2 separate regions of the Homo sapiens genome follow, and region 2 is linked to region 1. The links are contacts of gene promoters, found by promoter capture Hi-C in human tissues and cell types (Jung and others, 2019). All regions are on one chromosome and are shown on one strand. The core of a region is centred on a gene start or on the middle of the fragment in contact, and the rest is flanking DNA. Distances in the headings are between cores, read along the strand shown.

Region 1 (5,127 bases), core at 1,624-4,123:
CAGGTGCAGTGGCCTGGGCCTGTCGTCCCAGATGCTTGGGAGGCTGAGGTGGGAGGATAACTTGAGGGCAGGAGCCTGAGGCTGCAGTGAGCTATGATTACGCCTGTGAATAGCCAGTGCAGTCCAGCCTGGGCAACATCGTGAGACCCCATCTTTAAAACAAAAAAAATCGTGGCTCACGCCTGTAATCCCAGCACTTGGGAGGCCGAGACGGGTGGATCAGGAGGTCAGGAATTCAAGACCAGCCTGGCGAAGATGTTTCTCTACTAAAAATACAAAAAAACTAGCCAGGCATGGTGGCAGGCGCCTGTAATCCCAGCTACGCAGGAGGCTGAGGCAGAGAATTGCTTGAACACGGGAGGCAGAGGTTGGAGTGAGCCGAGATCGCGCCACTGCACTCCAGCCTGGGCAACAGAGCAAGACTTGGTCTCAAAAAAAAAAAAAAACAAAAAACAAAAAACTTCTGTAAAGAAATTTCAGAAGCTTATTTAAAAAAAAGCATTATAAGTTGTCTGATTTGAGAAAATAAAAGAGCCTTTTCTCATGAGAATTATCAAAGACTTCTCACCAACTGAACAATCACTGCTGCGTCACATGCAGACAATTCAACGGAATCAAAAAATACACAGAAGCCTCGCAGACTCACCTGGGATGTGCAGACTTGGGCCTGCTGTCCTACTGCGGCATGGAACCAGGATCTTAACGGAGGGCTGAGTTTGGTTGGGCAGGTGCTACGCGGAGCTCCTGAATGTAAGCGCTCCTGGACTGTGGCCTGTTCAAACACCGAAGCCGCAGAGCGGGCGTCAGAGCCTGTGGGAGGGACAGGGAGACCATCAGTGGAGGCGACTCTTCCTGTGCCTTCTCTTCAGCTACTTCCCAGGGATGCGGCGCGCACCGGGAACCCTCTACCACGAAAAAGCCGTCCAAGGAGCATCCACGCGTGCACTCAGGATGAGGCGGGTGGACCGTACTACCTCATCACCAGTTGTTGTAATGCACACGATATGAACACCTTAACCTTGACCCCAGACAAGCCCAGAGAAGGAAAACCTCCCCAACACCTGCCAGTCAGCTCCAGTCTAATCTTATTTCCAAAGAGTAAGAGGTAATAAATCCCCAAGTTTTGGATTTAATGAACCAGTAAAACTTCAATAACAACAACAACAAACCTCAGGGAGTAATAGGAGTTGCCAAAATTTTGCTTTGCTAAGTGTGGATTTTCTCTTTCATTACCATCTACGATCACTATGATTACATAAAATTAAGGTTCGTAAAAACAGTTTACAGTGAAAACATTCAAACACACAGATGGAGAACCGCACAGGGAGCACATGAGCCCCCCTTATTCAGCCTCAGTAACTACATCTGACCCATCCTGAGTCACTTCCCATCCCCAGGTAATTCTACAGCAAATCTCAGACCTATGACTTCATCCATAAATAAAAGCATACCAACTCCCGAAAAATGTGTAAGGAAATGATCTCAGAATAAAAGCCATCTACAAAGTGAAGACATCCAGTCGTATTAAAAACTCCCCACAATATCACTGCTTTCGGTTAGGACTCACATCTACCCTGGAAGGTGAGAACTCTGTCATGCACAACCAACGCTTGAGAACCACTTAGGGAGGGGATAAACGAACCTTGGGAGATGTAACCCAGTTTCACTCGAGATAAGTAACTTTGAACTTAACCCACTCCTTAATGTAGATGCAGAGATTTTGAACACAATTTTTCAAGTGGGACAGGTCAATCTCTACTTCACCAATTCCACCTAAAACATTAAGCAATAACCTAAACAACGCTCGCTCGCTCTCTGACGTGTAGGAGCCCGAGACAAGTGTTCCTGTAATCACTAGCAATCCCTCCGACGCACACACCATCCACACTCTACCCAACTCAGGAAGGATGCTCTCTCTTGTCCAAGGACAGCACAGGCCTCATCCACATTTCCACCTGCGCGAACCCCAGCCAGCACCATTTAGGCTCATTCCCGCTCCCTCCTCCTTCTAAAGTCACTTTTCCAGGATGAACTGCAACGGACGCTCGCAGGGTCAACCACGTGCTGGGGAGAGGAGCCCACGGAAGCAGCGGCCTCCCGGGGCCCAGCGCCGCGCTCCAGGGGCCTCCCGGGCGACTCCGCAGCGCCTGCCCCGAGCCCGGCCGCGGACACAGCGACCCGAGCACCTCTCCCCGAGCATGGCTCCGTGGCGAGCGTTACGTAAACGGGGGCGCGCGGAGTCTCCCCTCTCGTGTGTCTGGGTTTGGCGGCCGCCACTCCAGCCCCAGGCCCAGGACCCCCACGCCACCCGCCAGAAGCAGCAGCATCGGAACCGCACCCCGCCCCGGGCTCCATGGCCTCCTCCGCAACCACGAGGAAGGTGCCCGCCCCGGGGCCGCACCCGCCCCGCTGAGCTCTGCGGCCGCACGCGACGCCCTCGCCCTGATTCCGACTTCAACCTCTCCGAAGTTGACCTGAATCCTGCACAGACAGCGGGCCCCGGCGACCCCCATCACCGGCCCGGAGCCCGGGGGACGGCGGAGACCGGCGAGGACAGCCCGGCCCCGGACCCTCCTCGGGAATACCCGGGCTCTGGAGAAGCGAGCTCGCGAGCGGGCGGAGCATCCCGGGTCCTCCTCGGGGACGGCCGAAGCCCTGCGCGGACCCGCGCCCACGTTCTCCCTGAGCGTCCCGGCTGCGCCCGCCAGCCCTTCCCGCGCCCCAGGCCTCGCGGAACCCCCCGCCCCGGTCTCGTCCCCAGGCCTGCGCACCGCCCCGACCCGACCCCAGCCTACCCCGGCCTCTCCGCGGGCGCGCCACAAGCCTACGCAGCCCTGGCGACTCCTTCGGCCCGCGGCCCAGCACGCGCACCATCCGGGCCTCCGGCGCCTCACACACGTGTCACCGCGACGCTTAAAGGCGCCGCACCCAGCGTTCGCGCTGCGCTAACTCCGAAAGGGTTGGGAGGCTTTAAGAGGCGGGGCTAGATTCCGCTAACTCCCTGTCCCCGCCCACCGCCGCTTCCGTGTCGCCTACGTCACCTCCCCATCACGGGACCCCGCCAGCCTACGTGATGACGCAAGTGCGCAGAGCCACAGGCGCTCCCGCCCCTGTGCCGCGGCAGGGTGACGTCTCCGCAGCGCACTAGAGGTGCCGCTACTTCCGGGTCGGCCGAGCACACCTGGCGGCGTGGCGGACGCCTGAAGTGTGACAGTGGCGCGCGCCCCCGCCCCAGAACGGGGACTCGAGGGACTTTGCCCACCCCTGCAACAGCCCTCCCGCGCTGTCTCCCGGGCAGGGAGAAGGCTGGGCTCCCCCACCTGCCCCTGGCCGTCAGGTGGCTGTGGAGAAGCGGAGGCGCGGGCGCTCGGCCTTAACGTCCCGGGCTCTGGGGCCATCCGTGACTCCCACACGCGGAGCACCTGCAGTTTGGGGAGGGAGGGATCTGGGAGCGATCGGCCAAAGCCTGGGGCTGCCGAGGAAATGGCTCTTCGGAATTAGGGATCTGAGAGTGTGAGATTTGACCTTTGTAGGCTGGTGGCGGCTGTGCAATCTCTAGCTCCACCCACTCCCTCCAAAAGCTTTGTCCTCTGACAGCTCTGCGAAGGTTTTAGCTGAGTATTTGTGAGCACGTATTTCTTTTGCAGTATTTTTAAAAATCCTCTTGATCTGAGGCAACTTCGCTGGCTTCCTCCCCATTCCCTTGGGCAGGTTGAGAGTGTTGGTTCCTGGCCTGACCTCAGAAACTCAGAGAAGCACAGGATGGGCATAAACTACTTTATCCAAAAGGCAGAACTTTGCAAACACAGTCGTATCTGCTGTGTCTTTTTTGATGTAAGTAGGAATGATGAGTAGGGTGAAGTCACAGGTAAACAACCCAAAACGAATTTCCATGCCCTCCCCACGGATCCTAAAGCAGGGACTGGAGATGGGGAGAGAGGCTAGATGTACTTGGAACAAAATTCACCTTGTATTTATTACCTGGGCGCTGGTGTTTTTTGAAAAAAGCAAACAAGATAACCATATTAGTCTGATGCTGAGACTATGCCCTATCTGTAAGAATCCTTGGGCTGGGCGCGGTGGCTCACCCTTGTAATCCCAACACTTGGAGGCCAAGGTGGGCGGATCACCTGAGGTCAGGAGTTCGAGACCAGCATGGCCAACATGGTGAAACCCCGTCTCTACTAAACATACAAAAATTAGCTGGGTGTGGTGGTGGGCGCCTGTAATCCCAGCTACTCAGGAGGCTGAGGCACGAGAATCCCTTGAACCTAGGAGGCGGAGGTTGCAGCGAGCTGAGATGTCGCCACTGCACTCCAGCCTGGGCGACAGAGCGAGACTCCGTCTCAAAAGAAAAGAAAAGAAAAGAAAAAAAGGCAGGGCACAGTGGCTCACGCCTGTAATCCTAGCACTTTGGGAGGCCGAGGCAGGCAGATCGCTTGAGGTCAGGAATTCCAGACCAGCCTGGCCAACATGGTGAAAACCTGTCTCTACTAAAAATACAAAAATTAGCTGGGTATGGTGGCGCACGCCTGTAATCCGAGCTACTAGGGAGGCTGAGACAGGAGAATCGCTTGTACCTGGGAGGTGGAGGTTGCAATGAGCTGAGATCGTGCCATTGCACTCCAGCAGCCTGGACAACAGAGCAATACTTGGTCTAAAAAAAAAAAAAAGAAAGAAATGCAACGTAGGTCTCTCACGAAATTAGCCCAAATCTTCAGCCATCTTCTACAGGCTGTGAAACCAGGAGAGGAATTGAGTCCATCTTACCTTGACCTCCCAGGCAGGGAGCGGACCAGGTAATTTTTGGGTGACAATACAACTATTCTGTTAATGCACCTTTTTCTTGAGGTAAGTTCTAATGTGATCCGTTTTGGTTACAGCTTTCTATAACAGAATATTTTATTCTTTCATCTTTAATGTTTCTCTAGTTTTCTCTTTTAGGATTTAGAGATCATTCAGTCTCATCTCAAATATTTCAATTTCCATGTGGTTCTTTCATAAACATTTATCCACAGTGAGCCTGCCCTGCATTCTTTGGGTGTGGCTGACAGTTGCAGCCACCCTCAGGTCTGCGGGGGTGGGTGTGTTGCCCCTGAACTGCAATAGCAGAATTTCTCCCTAGCC
Region 2 (5,127 bases), core at 1,257-3,756, 520 kb before region 1:
GGGCGGTGAGTCAGCACGTGCTGCCCCCCGGGGCTCCAGTTTCCAAAAGGGCCTCCTGCCCTGCTCCTCCTCCTCCTCCTGGGTCTCTCTCTTTCTCTTTTACTTTTCCTCTGGTCCCCTGTTGACTTTTTCCCTCACCGAACTCACTGAATCTCAGTCCTCACACACGCGCACCCACTCACTTCCTGCCCCTTATCGTTTCCCTCCCTGCATCTGTCTGTCTGTCCAGCCTCGATCTGTGCACCCACTGGCTCCTTTGGTGTTTACAGAGCACCTACCAAGTCCAGGCACTGTGCACCACGGGAGGGAGTGGGGAGGCAGAGAAGGCCTAGGTCTCTCCTCCCAGAGCCCTTTCTTGTTGGAAAAGGAGACTTGTGCCGGGATGTGGCCAGCCACGGCCGCGCCTGGGTCCCCTTCCCCAGCCCCTGCTCCTGTGGTTGGTTCCCCCGGATGGACAGAGCTGGGCCCCCAACAGAGAACGATGCTTGAGGATCCCATTCCAAGCCAATGCCGTCTCTGCCTCCCTCCCGGCTCGGAGCACAAGGCCTGCACGCTGAGGGCGAGTGCGTGGTGGAGCAGGAGCTTCGGGGCGGTGTTTCTCACCCAGCCATGTCTCCCCTGCCCAGAACCGGGCATCAAGGGGAGTGAACTGCGGGCTGTTTTGAATTTGAGGGACAAGCTTGGTTGTCCCTTGTTCCCTGCCTCCCCATTCCAAGCCTCCTGTGGCAGAAGGAGGCCAGGCCATATCTTGAGGGAGGATTCTGGGCGTGCCTGCTTCACCCCAACAGCCCAAGGTCAGGGGAGGGGCTCCAGGCCGCAGGGGGTACAGCAAGGGGAAGCCACTCAGGCCCCTTCCCATCTGGACAAGTCCCTGAGTGCCAGGGCCCTTTGACTCTCTCCTGTCTCCCTCCTCCCCCATCTCCCAGCTAGAATCCAGGCTCTCCCACCACCCTCTGGGACCCCTGGGGCCGCTCACTTTCCAGACCCCTCTAATTCGGGCACTGGCCCCTCAGGAGCCGGGGAGGTGGCCCTGTGCCTGGGTCATGGGGCTGGGCTGGGGTCTCCTGCCTCTCGGGTCACTGTCCAATCTCTGTCTGCAGCTCTCGATGAATAATTTAGTTGTTCGAATTACAGGAAAGAGCTATTTAGCTTCCCTTCCCAAATCGTTAAGAGCTGATGATACAAGACGTCTTGGTTCCTTCTAAGGAAAGTCCCTTTCCCAGTGAAACTGAGCCTTGTGGGCGGGGATTTCTCCCCCTCCAACTCCCTCACCAATCATTAACCAATATCCGACAGTAATAGGGTTTTTTCTTTTTTCTTTTTTTTTTTTAAGCTCAGCTATATATATTCTAAAGTATATGTCAGTTCTTGGGAGCAGGGAAGTATAACTGATCTGAAGGGTGGGGTGGGGGTTCTGCTCTGGAAGGAGCCTTGGGTGAGCTAATGGTGACCCCAAGTCATAATTGCAGGTCCCTGGAGGGGATTTAAGATATAGGAAGTAGCACTTCGCAAGCCTGAGAGGAAGAAGCATGGGGTGTAAAACTGTTCAGGTGGTTCAAGAGTGCGTGTGCGTGTGTGCATGTGAGTGTGCATGTGTGTGTGAGAATGTGAATATGCACATGTATGCGTGTGCACGAGGGCGCACACGTGTATGCACAGATGCACACGCATACCTGTGTGATTGTGCATGTGTGCGCTGTGCATGTACATATGTGCGTATGTGTGCACGTGTGTGAGTGTGTACGTGTTTATAGGAGCATGACTGCCTGAGCGGCATGGCTGGAATGTGTGGACCGGGACCAGGTGGGGGTTTGCAGTGCAGGGACAGCACTTCTTGTTTTCAGAGCTGGGAGAGTTGGGGTGGGGAATCTGGGTAGGGCTGGCCTCCCAGTCAGGTGACTTGCAGGCAGGGAGGGGAGGGGCTTTAGGAAGTTCAGAGAGTGGGAGGGAGGAACAGGGAAGGGCAAGGGTGGGGACCTTGGCTGGAAGGTTCAATGCAAAGTGAGGCGACATCCAGGATTGAGCATTCTGGATCCTAGACCCAGGGATGGCTGGGAGGTGGGGCTCCCCTGGGTGAAGGAGCCAGGTGGGTGTGTGAGCCAAGAGTTAGCTGTGGCTGCCAGAGGAGGGGGCTGGAGACGAGGCTGCCAGCCTCAGCCTGGCTGAAGAGGACCTCCCAGCACCAGGCCAGGGGAAGGTGGACAGGTAGGGAGAGAAAAAGGAGGGAAGGAATGAGGACTGAGCTAGCAGGTCCCACACTTTGCAGGTGTGGTGAGGAGGAGAGAGGGAAGAAGGGGGACCCTCTGCAGTCCTGGCTGGCAGGAAGCTTGGCCTGTGCTCTGGCAAGCACACCCTGCCCTGCTGGACTCACTGGAGGAGTCTGTTCTCTGTGTGCCCGGCAGAGGGATAGACACGCATTTCCCACGACGTCACCCACCCCAGAACCACTTAGCCTGCAGCCTCCCCCAGATTCCCTGACTTCCCACCTGAGCAAGCCCAGCTGGCCTCCCGCATCCACTCAGGTGCCCTCCGTGTGTTGTCTTCCGGACAGGGGCACCCAACACAGGTGCAAGCAGTGCGTGCTAGGGCCGGAGAGGAGGACAGTGGAGGCTGCTCCCAGCCTCCTTTTTCTTCCGTACTCCCACCAGCACCTCCACCCCACCTCTGAAACTCCACCCCAATTCTGGGGAGTGTGGAGATGACTGAGGAAGGGGGGATATTTCCAGAGCCACTCCAACTGGTCCCAGATGCATCAGAGGGTGACCCTGGGAGGCCAGTCCTTAGGCAGCTGCCTAAGGACCCGACTCTGGAAGGGAACTCAGAGACAAATGAGGAGCAGACCAGCCCCAGCTCCGGGTTTGCAGATCTGGGCAGAGTGAGGAAAAGGCCGGGAAAGAAAAACCAACCCCCGGAATCTATCTCAGAGAAGCATCCGTCCAGGTAGAGAGGGACCCCAGCCCGACCGCCACCCTCACCCAGGGGAGAAGCCTAGCAGCTCCCTCTGGGTTGGGTGTGCATGTGTCATCCCACCAAAGTGTGCTGGGATTGGAATGGGCACGACCTTCCCCCAGAGAGATCGCCTGGGCAGCCCCGTAAGTGTCCAGGGGTCCCCTGAGAGCATTCTATGGTCCCAGCCTCCCACAGGAGCCCCAACAATGCTCTCTGGCTCCTCATCCTCCTTGGTGGCAGCTCCTCTCCCCACCAAAGGGCCATGTGGGTCCCAGCTGTGACCTCAGCACCCCTCAGCCAGATGTGGACCCGCCCCAGACTCCATCACTCTCTCTGCTCTCTTCACAGAAGAGAGGTGGAGGGAGGACCCCACGGGCCTCGCTGGTGGCAGGCGGTGGGGATGTAGCGGGGGAGTGTGTGGGGGGGGTTAGAGTTAGGACAGCAGCCCCTCCCCAAACCCCGATCCCTGAGCCCCAAGCCTGTCTTGGCTCCATGGGGCAAGGGAGGGGTAGTCAAGCCCCACAGAAGAGAGGCATCCCCCAGTTTCCATGGAGAAGGATCGGGGTGTCCTGATTTGGAGGCTTCCATGCTGTCTGCTGCTCCCTGTGGATACACAGTTGGGGCGCTCTCTGTTCCTCCCTAGTCCCTTCTCTCCTCCCTGCTTGCCTGGGAGGCTTGGGCAGGAGGGCACCTGGATGGTGGCCACTAGACAGAGCCCACCCCCCGCCGCTTGACCTCTGCCCTCTCCTGGGTGGGAATGGCAGGGCCCTCTTTGGTGTCAGGAGCTGGTGGCCTCTGTGGCCTCTGTCCCGCCCGCTCCCAACACCTGCCTTCCCTTCTCTGCTCCAGCTGCAGTCGGCTTCTGCCAATGCCCAGAACCTTGTAGTCTTTTGCCCGCTGGTTTTGCATGTGCTTCCCCTAGGCCAGAGGGCAGCAAACTTTCTCTGAAAAGGGCCAGGTAGTAAATATTTCAGCCTCTGCTTAGTGAGGAAGCAGCCATGGACCACTCACGAACAAGTGAGTATGGCTGTGTTCCAACACAACTGCGTACGCACACTGCAACTTGAATTCCGTGTGATTTTCACATCATGAAATATTCTTTTTTCTTTTGCTTGGTTTTTCAACCACTTAAAAATGTAAAAACCAGCCAGGCACAGTGGTTTACGTCTGTAATCCCAGCACTTTGGGAGGCCAAGGCGGGAGGATCACTTGAGCCCAGGAGTTCAAGATCAGCCTGGGAAACACAGTGGGATTCCGTCTTTACAAAAAATGAAGAAATTAGTCAGGCATGGTGGTGCACACCTGTGGTCCAAGCTAGTCAAGGAGGCTGAGGCAAGAGGACCCCTTGAGCCCAGGAGGTCAAGGCAGCAGTGAGCCATGATCACACCACTGCGCTGCAGCCTGGGCAACAGAGCGGGAACCTGTCTCAAAAAAATAATTAAAATTAAAATTAAAACATGTAGGCCGAGTGCGGTGGCTCACACCTGTAATCCCAGCACTTTGGGAGGCCGGGATGGGCAGATCATTTGAGGCCAGGAGTTCGAGACCAGTCTGGCCAACATGGTGAAACCCTGTCTCTACTAAAAATAGAAAAAAAATTAGCCAGATGTGGTGGCACACGCCTATAGTCCCAGCTACTTGGGAGACTGAGGCATGAGAATCACTTGGACTCAGAGGCAGAGGTTGCAGTCAGCTGAGATCGCACCACTGCACTCCAGCCTGGGCAACAGAGTGAGACCCTGTCTCAAAAAAAAAAAAGAAACTAAAACGTGTAAAAACCATTTTTTTTTTAGTGGAATCTTGCTCTGTTGCCCAGGCTGGCGTGCAGTGGCACAGTCTCGGCTCACCACAACTTCCACCTCCCGGGGTCAAGCCATTCTCCTGCCTCAGCCTCAGCCTCCCGAGTAGCTGGGATTACAGGCACGCACCACGATGCCGGGCTAATTTTTATATTTTTGAATAGAGATGGGGTTTCACCATGTTGGCCAGGCTGGTTTTGAACTCCTGACCTCGTGATCCACCCACCTCGGCCTCCCAAAGTGCTGGGATTACAGGTGTAAGCCACCGCGCCAGGCCTGTAAAAACCATTTTTTGCGGGCTGAACAAAAACAGGCAGCACGTTGGATTTAGCCTGGGGGCAGTGGTGGAGGTTTGCTGACCCCTGTACTAGGCTGCTCC

What was found. Contacts are between HindIII fragments. The study calls those that stand out against the background at their distance.
Region 2: a contact is called between a fragment that was not itself captured here and the fragment with the promoter of USP36 in region 1, in 1 of the 25 tissues and cell types used here (aorta).

The regions. Positions count from the first base shown.
Region 1 is chr17:78,837,941-78,843,067 of GRCh38, forward strand. It overlaps USP36 (ubiquitin specific peptidase 36), which reads right to left and starts at 2,874. Exons shown (of 21, transcript NM_001385174.1): 1 at 2,796-2,874; 2 at 647-810. LOC124904067 (a long non-coding RNA gene) reads left to right here and starts at 3,174. Exons shown (of 2, transcript XR_007065923.1): 1 at 3,174-5,127. RefSeq lists enhancers at 328-842, 843-1,357, 2,952-3,141 and silencers at 2,282-2,801, 3,262-3,361. The HindIII fragment of the contact is 7,372 bases long and covers 1-5,127 here.
Region 2 is chr17:78,315,784-78,320,910 of GRCh38, forward strand. It overlaps LOC105371912 (a long non-coding RNA gene), which reads left to right. Exons shown (of 2, transcript NR_188632.1): 1 at 1-5. Among named protein-coding and RNA genes, the nearest start is that of LINC01993, 40 kb to the left of the region's middle. RefSeq lists enhancers at 1-108, 1-79, 1,244-1,313, 1,745-2,039. The HindIII fragment of the contact is 6,869 bases long and covers 1-5,127 here.